Linked DNA regions of Homo sapiens: region 2 is linked to region 1. The links are contacts of gene promoters, found by promoter capture Hi-C in blood cells and fetal thymus (Javierre and others, 2016). All regions are on one chromosome and are shown on one strand. The core of a region is centred on a gene start or on the middle of the fragment in contact, and the rest is flanking DNA. Distances in the headings are between cores, read along the strand shown.

Region 1 (3,735 bases), core at 364-2,863:
GGCAGAGGAAATTCTTTAAATATCTTGTATGGGTTTTCCGAAGGCAAATTTTTTAAATACCCTCAAACTATGGTACATTTATGAAGCCCATTTTAAATTACTTCTCCCATCTCTGCTTCATCTGCTTCACTAATTCATGTATTAAAACTGTTGAAACTCCATTTAACTATTTGACTAACTTCTCTGTAAGATGGAAACTTTTTAAAGGGTGTTAAAGTAGAATAGCAAATTTTCAGCATAATAAGAGCAAATTTATTACTAGGCTCAAGGAAAACATCCTATCAGCGATTCATTCATACGAAACTATCAGGTTCAATTCATATGAAGTCAGAAGAGAGAAAAAGAATTTTGGAAATTAAATCACATTTCAAAGACCATTTCTAAAAAGATGTAATTATTCCAAGTTATTTATTTATTAACAATTATTTTACACATGTCGTTTTAAAAGTTTCACAAACCCAAATTTAAGATAGTCCAAATTGCAACAAACAAGACATGACTTTGATGGAAAATGCTGCTTGCAAATTCGTTTTACCTGGAAATTTCTTTTTTAAAGGTATGGTTGACAACACACTGGTGGTATTTTGCTTTTAAAGGGTCAAGAGAAAGGAATAACAAAACCAACCCAGGCATTCTTTTTCTGTTTAGGATCAAAAGGACATTTTAAGGATAAGTAAAAGACAAAAGTACCTGACCCAAAGACAATATCCCCCTCCAAGAGAACAAAGTAAGTTGCAATTTTAAAAACCAAGTTTGAAATACGAGAAATCACTTCGAGGGCTTTCCAAAGGCGTGTGATAAAAACTAATAGGCTCCACCCGCAGAACAACTTTCACAAGTGAGTGAAGGATGATCACAGAGTTATCAGCTGTGTGCGTGTTTGTGAGTACACACAAGCCATGGAAAACCCGAGACTACCACTGTTAACAAAGGTTACGAGACCAAAAAAAAAAAGTGGAGGCAAAGTATTACGCGTCCCTAACAAGGCTTCCCCACAACTCCTGAAACAAGAGCTCTGGCCCTTCGGCTTTAAAAATCAGAACCACAAACTATGGAGTGTGAGAGCAGCGAGGGGAAGGGACGCAGGCAGCCCCCGCCCCCGTCAGCCTGGGCGGCAGCGCAGTGCAACCGAGCCCCGTCCCTTCCCGGCTCTCCGGCCCCGAACCCGCACGCCCGGGCCGGCGCACCCACAGCCCCCGAACTCACCACACCCCAGCCCCCACCCGCAGCGGCCATGTGACACGGCCCATCGCCCCGGCCGCGGACGCACGCAAACACTTCCCTAGCTGGAGGCCCGCGGGCGCCCAGGCTTTACCTGCAAGGTGGCGCCAGGTCCCGCCCCGTCAGATCCGGGGGGTCCGGGACCTTTTGTTCCTTCCTCTTCCGATGGGATGGAGGGGGCTGGGAGGGGAAGAGGGGAATGGGCGATTGGAGGCGGAACTGAAAACACTCCCGGCCGCCGTCTTCCCGCCCCGCCCCCAGGCCCGGGCCCGGCCGGCGGCCCGGGCGCGCGGGAGGGTAGGGGAAGAGAGGGGAGGGGAGGGGAGGAGAGGGAAGGGGAGGGGAGGGAGCCTGGCCGCCGCCCGCGGGGAAGGAGGGGGTGAGGACGCGCGCGCCCGCGCTGCCCCTCCTCCCCTCAGGCGCGCGCCCGCAGCCCTACCGGCCGCCCGCACGGCCGCGCCCTCCCCCGCCAGCCCACCTCCGCTTCCGCCCTCCGCCCTCGGCCGCCGGCCGCCGCGGCGCCACGCACCCACCTCCCGGCGGCTGGCGGGCTGCTGGCTGGCGAGCTGCTTCTCCGCCGCCGCGGCCGCGCGGGTAGACCCGCCTGCCACCCTGGGCCGCGGGCCCCGCCGATTCGCCGGCGCAGCCCCGGGGCTGGCACCCTGCCGCCCGCTGATTGGCGCCTCCAGCCGCCCGTTAGGGCGCGAGGCACGCCGGCCGAAAGCCGCGCGGGGCGGGTATGGAAGACGGAGGGAGCGGAGGAGGAAAGGAACGAGGCCGAGCACCGCGGGAAGGGCCGGGGGGCGAGCGGGGCGCGGGGAGTCGCCGGCCACCGCCTCCCCACCTCCCTTTGCCTACGGCCCGCCCCGCCTCCCGGCCGGACCGGCGGCGCCCGCAGCCAATCAGCACGAGGGAAGCTCGGGGTGTGAGCCGCGCATCGGGGGCCTCGAATCGGAAGGGAGACGTCGCTCGCTGATTGGTCCCGCCTCCCCAGTCTAGCGTGAGGCGAGGCGGGGCGCGGCCGGGCGGGGCGGGACGCCCGCGGTTTCGCTTGAGTTGGGCGCCGGCGCGCTCCCACCGGGGCTCACGGGCGGAGAGGGAGAGGCCCGCGCCTTGCCGCGCATTAAGACGATTCCCGGTGACCGCCCGATCCCTCGCCAGCGTCGTGGGTGGGGCCTGTAGGGGCCTGCCGCCTCGTCCACCGTCCGTCGTGAGGCCGGCAGCGGACACGTGCTCATCCCACGGGGAGGCCCCGCGCAGCGCGGAGGACGCGCCTGAGAGAGAAAAGGGGTTCGGGAGAAGCCCGAGGACCCGGCCCGTGACTGGGCGCGCCCTATGCAAATGAGCGGGCGGGGCCCTCGTGTTGCTGAACGAGGGCGGGTTCGCGATGTAAATAAGCCCAGAGGTGGGGTCTTTGGAGAGCACTTAGGGCCCGGGTAGGGGATGCCAGGTATAAGTGTTTAACCTAAATTTTGGTTCCGTCTTCAGTAAAAATGATATCAATAATCCATGTCCCGAAGGGTCTTTGTGAAGTCTAAAAGAAACATCTGTCACGATGTCCCTTAATGGCTGGGATATCTTCCCTTCCCCTTTTCTCCACTGTTGCGACGATTAGGCCCCAACTTGCACATCTGCCCTACAGGAGGCAGCAAGGCCCTAAACTTACGGCTGCCCAGAACATAACTGCACCCAGGGAAAACCTTGTTGCGGTTACCCTTAGGAACACCCAAGCCTCTGCTGACAAAATATTGAGCCCAACTAATCACATCAGGTGTTTACTATGCACCCACTGTGACACAGGCAGGGAGTACCGTAGAACTAAAGTTGAAAAGAAACTTAGGTTTCACACAGGTGCCAGAGACAAGACTAGAACACAGTTTTTTTTTGGCTGCCTGTCCAGTAATTCATTCTCATGTGTGGCTTAGTTTATAGATTTAATTGGGGACTTCAAATAAGCGGGAAAGAAGCACTAGCAATACAAATCGGTAATCAGGAAGTACCAAATGAGCACTCCAAACAGTAAGAGTTTTTGAAGTATACGCTTTCTTCTGAGAAATGAACGTGTCCCAGAGGAGGGTGCCTTCAGATGGACCTTAAGAGAGATGTGGCCATCCCCTGAGTCATACAAGTTTTCCAGATGTCCTTTCAAAATCTCTGTCCTTTCCACCGTCTCTGTCCTCACACATAGAGGAACTTTTCTCACGGGAAGGTTGCGATGAAGAGCATAAACCCAGGAGTCAGGCACGTTGTAGCTTTGAGTACGACTCTGTTCCAGATCTGTAATCTTTGGCAAATGGAACTCACCTGCAACGATACCTACTTAAATATAGTTGTGTGATGATTAAATAATAAATATGAAAGTAAATAACATAGGGCTTTGAAGTTCAAGGAAAGTCAGTGATCATTAACTTCTCTTCTGTTGCGTGCGAACATTTATGCTGAGACGAACCTACTCAGCAGAAATTCTTCCTCCAAAAATTCCCTTCCAGGGTGGTTTCTTCCATTGTTAGTTTA
Region 2 (3,796 bases), core at 750-3,249, 3.1 Mb after region 1:
TGACTTTTTCTTTTGAACTGTTTCACTTGTGTTAGCTTTACATTCTTTAATACAGTGTTACACACATGTACAGTGTAGCCATCTCACACATCTAACTTAACGGGTCTTTTGAAAGTATTGCCACATTTGCTTTGCTTCTGTGTCTGTCTCTTTCTTTTCTCTCCCCCTTCCTGTCACCTATTCCTTTCTCCTCTGTTTCTTTCTTCACTTTCAGTTTATTTGAACTGTCTGGTAGTAAGTTTTAGGAAGCTGTATTTCCCATGATGAGAAGTTAGTATATCATCACTATTTTAAATAGGAAGTTGATTTTCTTTTAAAGTATATTCTCAAATGCTTACTTGTACTCCTTTTGGAGACTAATTACTTTAAGTCCCCAAGTTAGCATCTGAACTCCCTGTGGGCTTGGTCTGGTGGCTCACATCTATAATCTCAGCACTTCAGGAGGCTAAGGCAAGAGGATCACTTGAGCCCAGGATTTCAAGGCCAGCCTGGGCAACAAAGTGAGACCTCATCTCTAAAATAAATAAATAAATAAATAAATATAACTCCCAATGCAAATTGTCTTCTTAGGGCGTTAATCTACTTGGTAAACCTTACATTTTCAAGCCCCCAATTAACTAGTCACTTAACTGGTTTCTGAGAGGCAGGTTGCATTGGGCTTTTTCTGTCAGGGCTTAATTAATACACTGTGAGACATTTGCTCAGCTAGGCCAGCTAGCTAGTACTTCTGTAGAGATCATCTAGGGCATGTTCAGCTCTCCATTTACATCACCTGAAGTAGTTCCCAAGTGCTGGGCTATGGAGTAGTTTCATCTCTGTCTCTGGAAGAGCTATTTAAAAAAATAAAAATATTTTTTCCCATCTGATTGCAACACACATGCTGCTTCAGAATGGGAATGGAGTGGAGGAGGCATGGGAATCTGTGTTATTTTTAAAAAGTGCCTCTTGATTCTAAAGGTTTTGTTTATTTTGGTATGCTTATCCTTACTGCTTTATTTATCTATTTTTTAGAGACAGGTTGCCCAGGATGGAGTGCAGTAACATCATCATAGCCCTCTATAACCTTCAACTTCTGGGTTCAAGAGATCTTGCCTCAGCCTCCAGAGTAGCTAGGACTACAGGCCGGCACCACCACGCCTGGCTGATTTTTTTAAAACTGTTTTGTAGAAATGGGGGGGCGGGGGTCTTGCTTTGTTGCCCAGGCTAGCCAAATCTTATTTATGATTTAAAACTAGGAATGCTACCGAATATATATTTTTATAGTAAGGTATTATTTCTGTATGTTAATATGGATGAATGTATGCTACTCAGGTCTTTTCAAGTCAAAATGTATTTCTAAATATAAGATGAATTAAGGATATTTGTCAGTGATATTCACTAGTGAATTCTAGAGCATATGTTATCAGTAGATGGGCAGTCCTTGTAAAAATTGAATAATCTAGTGAAAGGATGACCGGAAATAATATTTAATGGGGTAAGCTAAGCCAGGAATCATTGTACATAAACACATTAGGTGTGTCTTACATCATAAATATGCCTACTAAAACTAGTTGAAGGAAGAATGTGTATAGATGCTGAAATAATGAAGGGGCTGGCTAATTGTAAGGAAAAATGATACAACTTCTATATAATTAGTCTTTTTAATCAGTTGCATATACTCATGATACTTAATTTGTAAAGTAAAGATTGTAGACTAGATCAATGCTTTGTAAAACTAACAGTACCTCAGACTTCCAGAGTGTTTTTTAAAGGTACAGCCCCACCCTTGATTCTAGTTAGTGGAGCTGGCCTAACCTGCGGGGGATTTTGATACATCCCCCTTTGAAGGAATAAGCTAGATGACTTGAAACTCTGCTTCAGTTAAAAGTTTTATGAAATGAGGCCGGGTGCGGTGACTCACGCCTGTAATCTCAGCACTTTGGGAGGCCAAGGGGGGTGCGGATTACCTGAGGTCAGGAGTTTGAGACCAGCCTGACCAACATGGTGAAACCCCGTCTCTACTAAAAATACAAAAATTCATTGGGCATGGTGGCACATGCCTGTAATCCCAGCTACTCACATGCCTGTAATCCCAGCTTCTTGGGAGGCTGAGGCAAGAGAATTGCTTGAGCCTGGGAGACAGAGGTTGCAGTGAGCTGAGATTGTGCCACTGCACTCCAGCCTAGCTGACAGAGCGAGACTGTCTCAAAAAAACAAAAAAAGTTTTATAAAATGTATTTTTCAGTTATCAGTTATTAAAATTCAGTTTGGTTTCCACCATCTTTTAAAACAGTGGTTCCCAAAGTATGGTCCACAGACTCCTGGAGATCCCTAGGATCCTTATATTTAAGGGGTTCACAAAATCAAAATTATTTTCATAATGAAACTGAGACGTTATTTGCCCTTTCACTGTGAGGACATTTGTATGGGTGGTGAAGGAGCAGTGGTGGGTAAACTGCTGGCACTTTAAAATGACTCTAGGCAGTTATACCAAACATATGAGTCCTCATTGTGTTCTTTATAGTCAAACACACATAAGCATTTGAAAAAATGCCGGTTTCACTTAATAATCCCCTTGCTGCAGCAGTAAAAAGGTTTAATTTTAAAAAAATCTCTACCTTGGAGTATGTCTTTTTAATAGTGTGATTAAATGGGAAGTATGCATAAAGCATTTCTGCACATTGAAGTACAGTGTTCTTTTCTAGGAAAAGCACTTGTGTTATTGAGCTGCAAGCTGAACTAGCTGCTTTTTAGTGGGACACCATTTTTATTTTTATTTAACAGGATGACAGATAAGCTCAGATAGCTATTTAGATTTGAGTATTTGGCAGGTAATTCCTTGGAAATGAATAAAGTGAGCTGGCCACTTCGAGGAGAACATTTATAGCCAGTGCTAAAATCTGATGTTTCAAGTGAAAATCAGATTTTTGGGAAACTCCTGTCACTATGACTTGCCAGTTTCTTAATACTTAAAGACTTTTCTGATGAGATGGGTGGTGATATTAAGGAATGTGATTAAAAAAAATATGTTGGGCTGGGCACGATGATGCACACCCATATTTCTAGCACTGTGGGAGGCGGAGGTGGGAGAATTGCTTTTGGCCAAGAGTTCGAGACCCTGTTTCTACAATAACATATAAAAATTAGGTGTAGTGGCATGTAGTTCTAGCTGCTCAGGAGGGTGAGGTGAGAAGATTGCTTCAGCCAGGGAGTTCAAGGCTGGATTAAGCTAGGATCGCACCACTGCACTCGGGCCTAGGCTACAGAGCGAGACTGTGGGGGGGGGGGCAGTATGAGGAAGTGTGTCAACACTGGGAAGATCTGTGTAACTCATTGAACCAATATTTTCCCAAATGACCAATTCATGTTACAAAATCGTGCATGGGTAGGCGATCCGTTCAAAGTACAACATAGACAAATGGATTTTTATATACACCAGAGCCAAAAAGTTCACTGATACAGTGAATTCCACATTGCAACTAACCTTTCAGAATTGCCACTTGAGTTTTGGTGTTGAATAAAAGATGAATATCCATTGTTTTCTGAGAAGGCTGTTAAAATACTCCTCTCTTCCAATTAGCTGTCCATGTGAGACACGTTTTCTTCATGTACTTTAAACAAAACAACATATCATAGCAGATTGAATGCAGAAGCAGATATGGGAATCCAGCTGTCTCCTATTAAGCTAGGCATTAAGAGAAATTTGTGAAGATGTAAAACAGTGTTACTCTGATTCCTGACTTTGTTTTAGAAAATTCTGTTTTTCATAAGATGTTTATATTAACGTAATGGGTTTATTATTTTAAATGAATTAATA

The links. The method cuts DNA at HindIII sites, captures the fragments that hold promoters and counts their contacts. A CHiCAGO score of 5 or more calls a contact.
Region 2: a fragment that was not itself captured here is called in contact with the fragment with the promoter of SMAD2 in region 1 in 1 of 17 cell types (neutrophils); the score reaches 5.5 in neutrophils.

Annotation. Positions count from the first base shown.
Region 1 is chr18:47,929,046-47,932,780 of GRCh38, forward strand. SMAD2 (SMAD family member 2) reads right to left here and starts at 1,614. Exons shown (of 11, transcript NM_005901.6): 1 at 1,316-1,614. It overlaps LOC124904297 (a long non-coding RNA gene), which reads right to left. Exons shown (of 2, transcript XR_007066360.1): 2 at 3,143-3,735. RefSeq lists silencers at 1,043-1,572, 1,603-2,532. The HindIII fragment of the contact is 8,478 bases long and covers 1-3,735 here.
Region 2 is chr18:51,034,996-51,038,791 of GRCh38, forward strand. All of the region lies in intron 1 of SMAD4 (SMAD family member 4), which reads left to right. Among named protein-coding and RNA genes, the nearest start is that of SMAD4, 6.7 kb to the left of the region's middle. The HindIII fragment of the contact is 9,660 bases long and covers 1-3,796 here.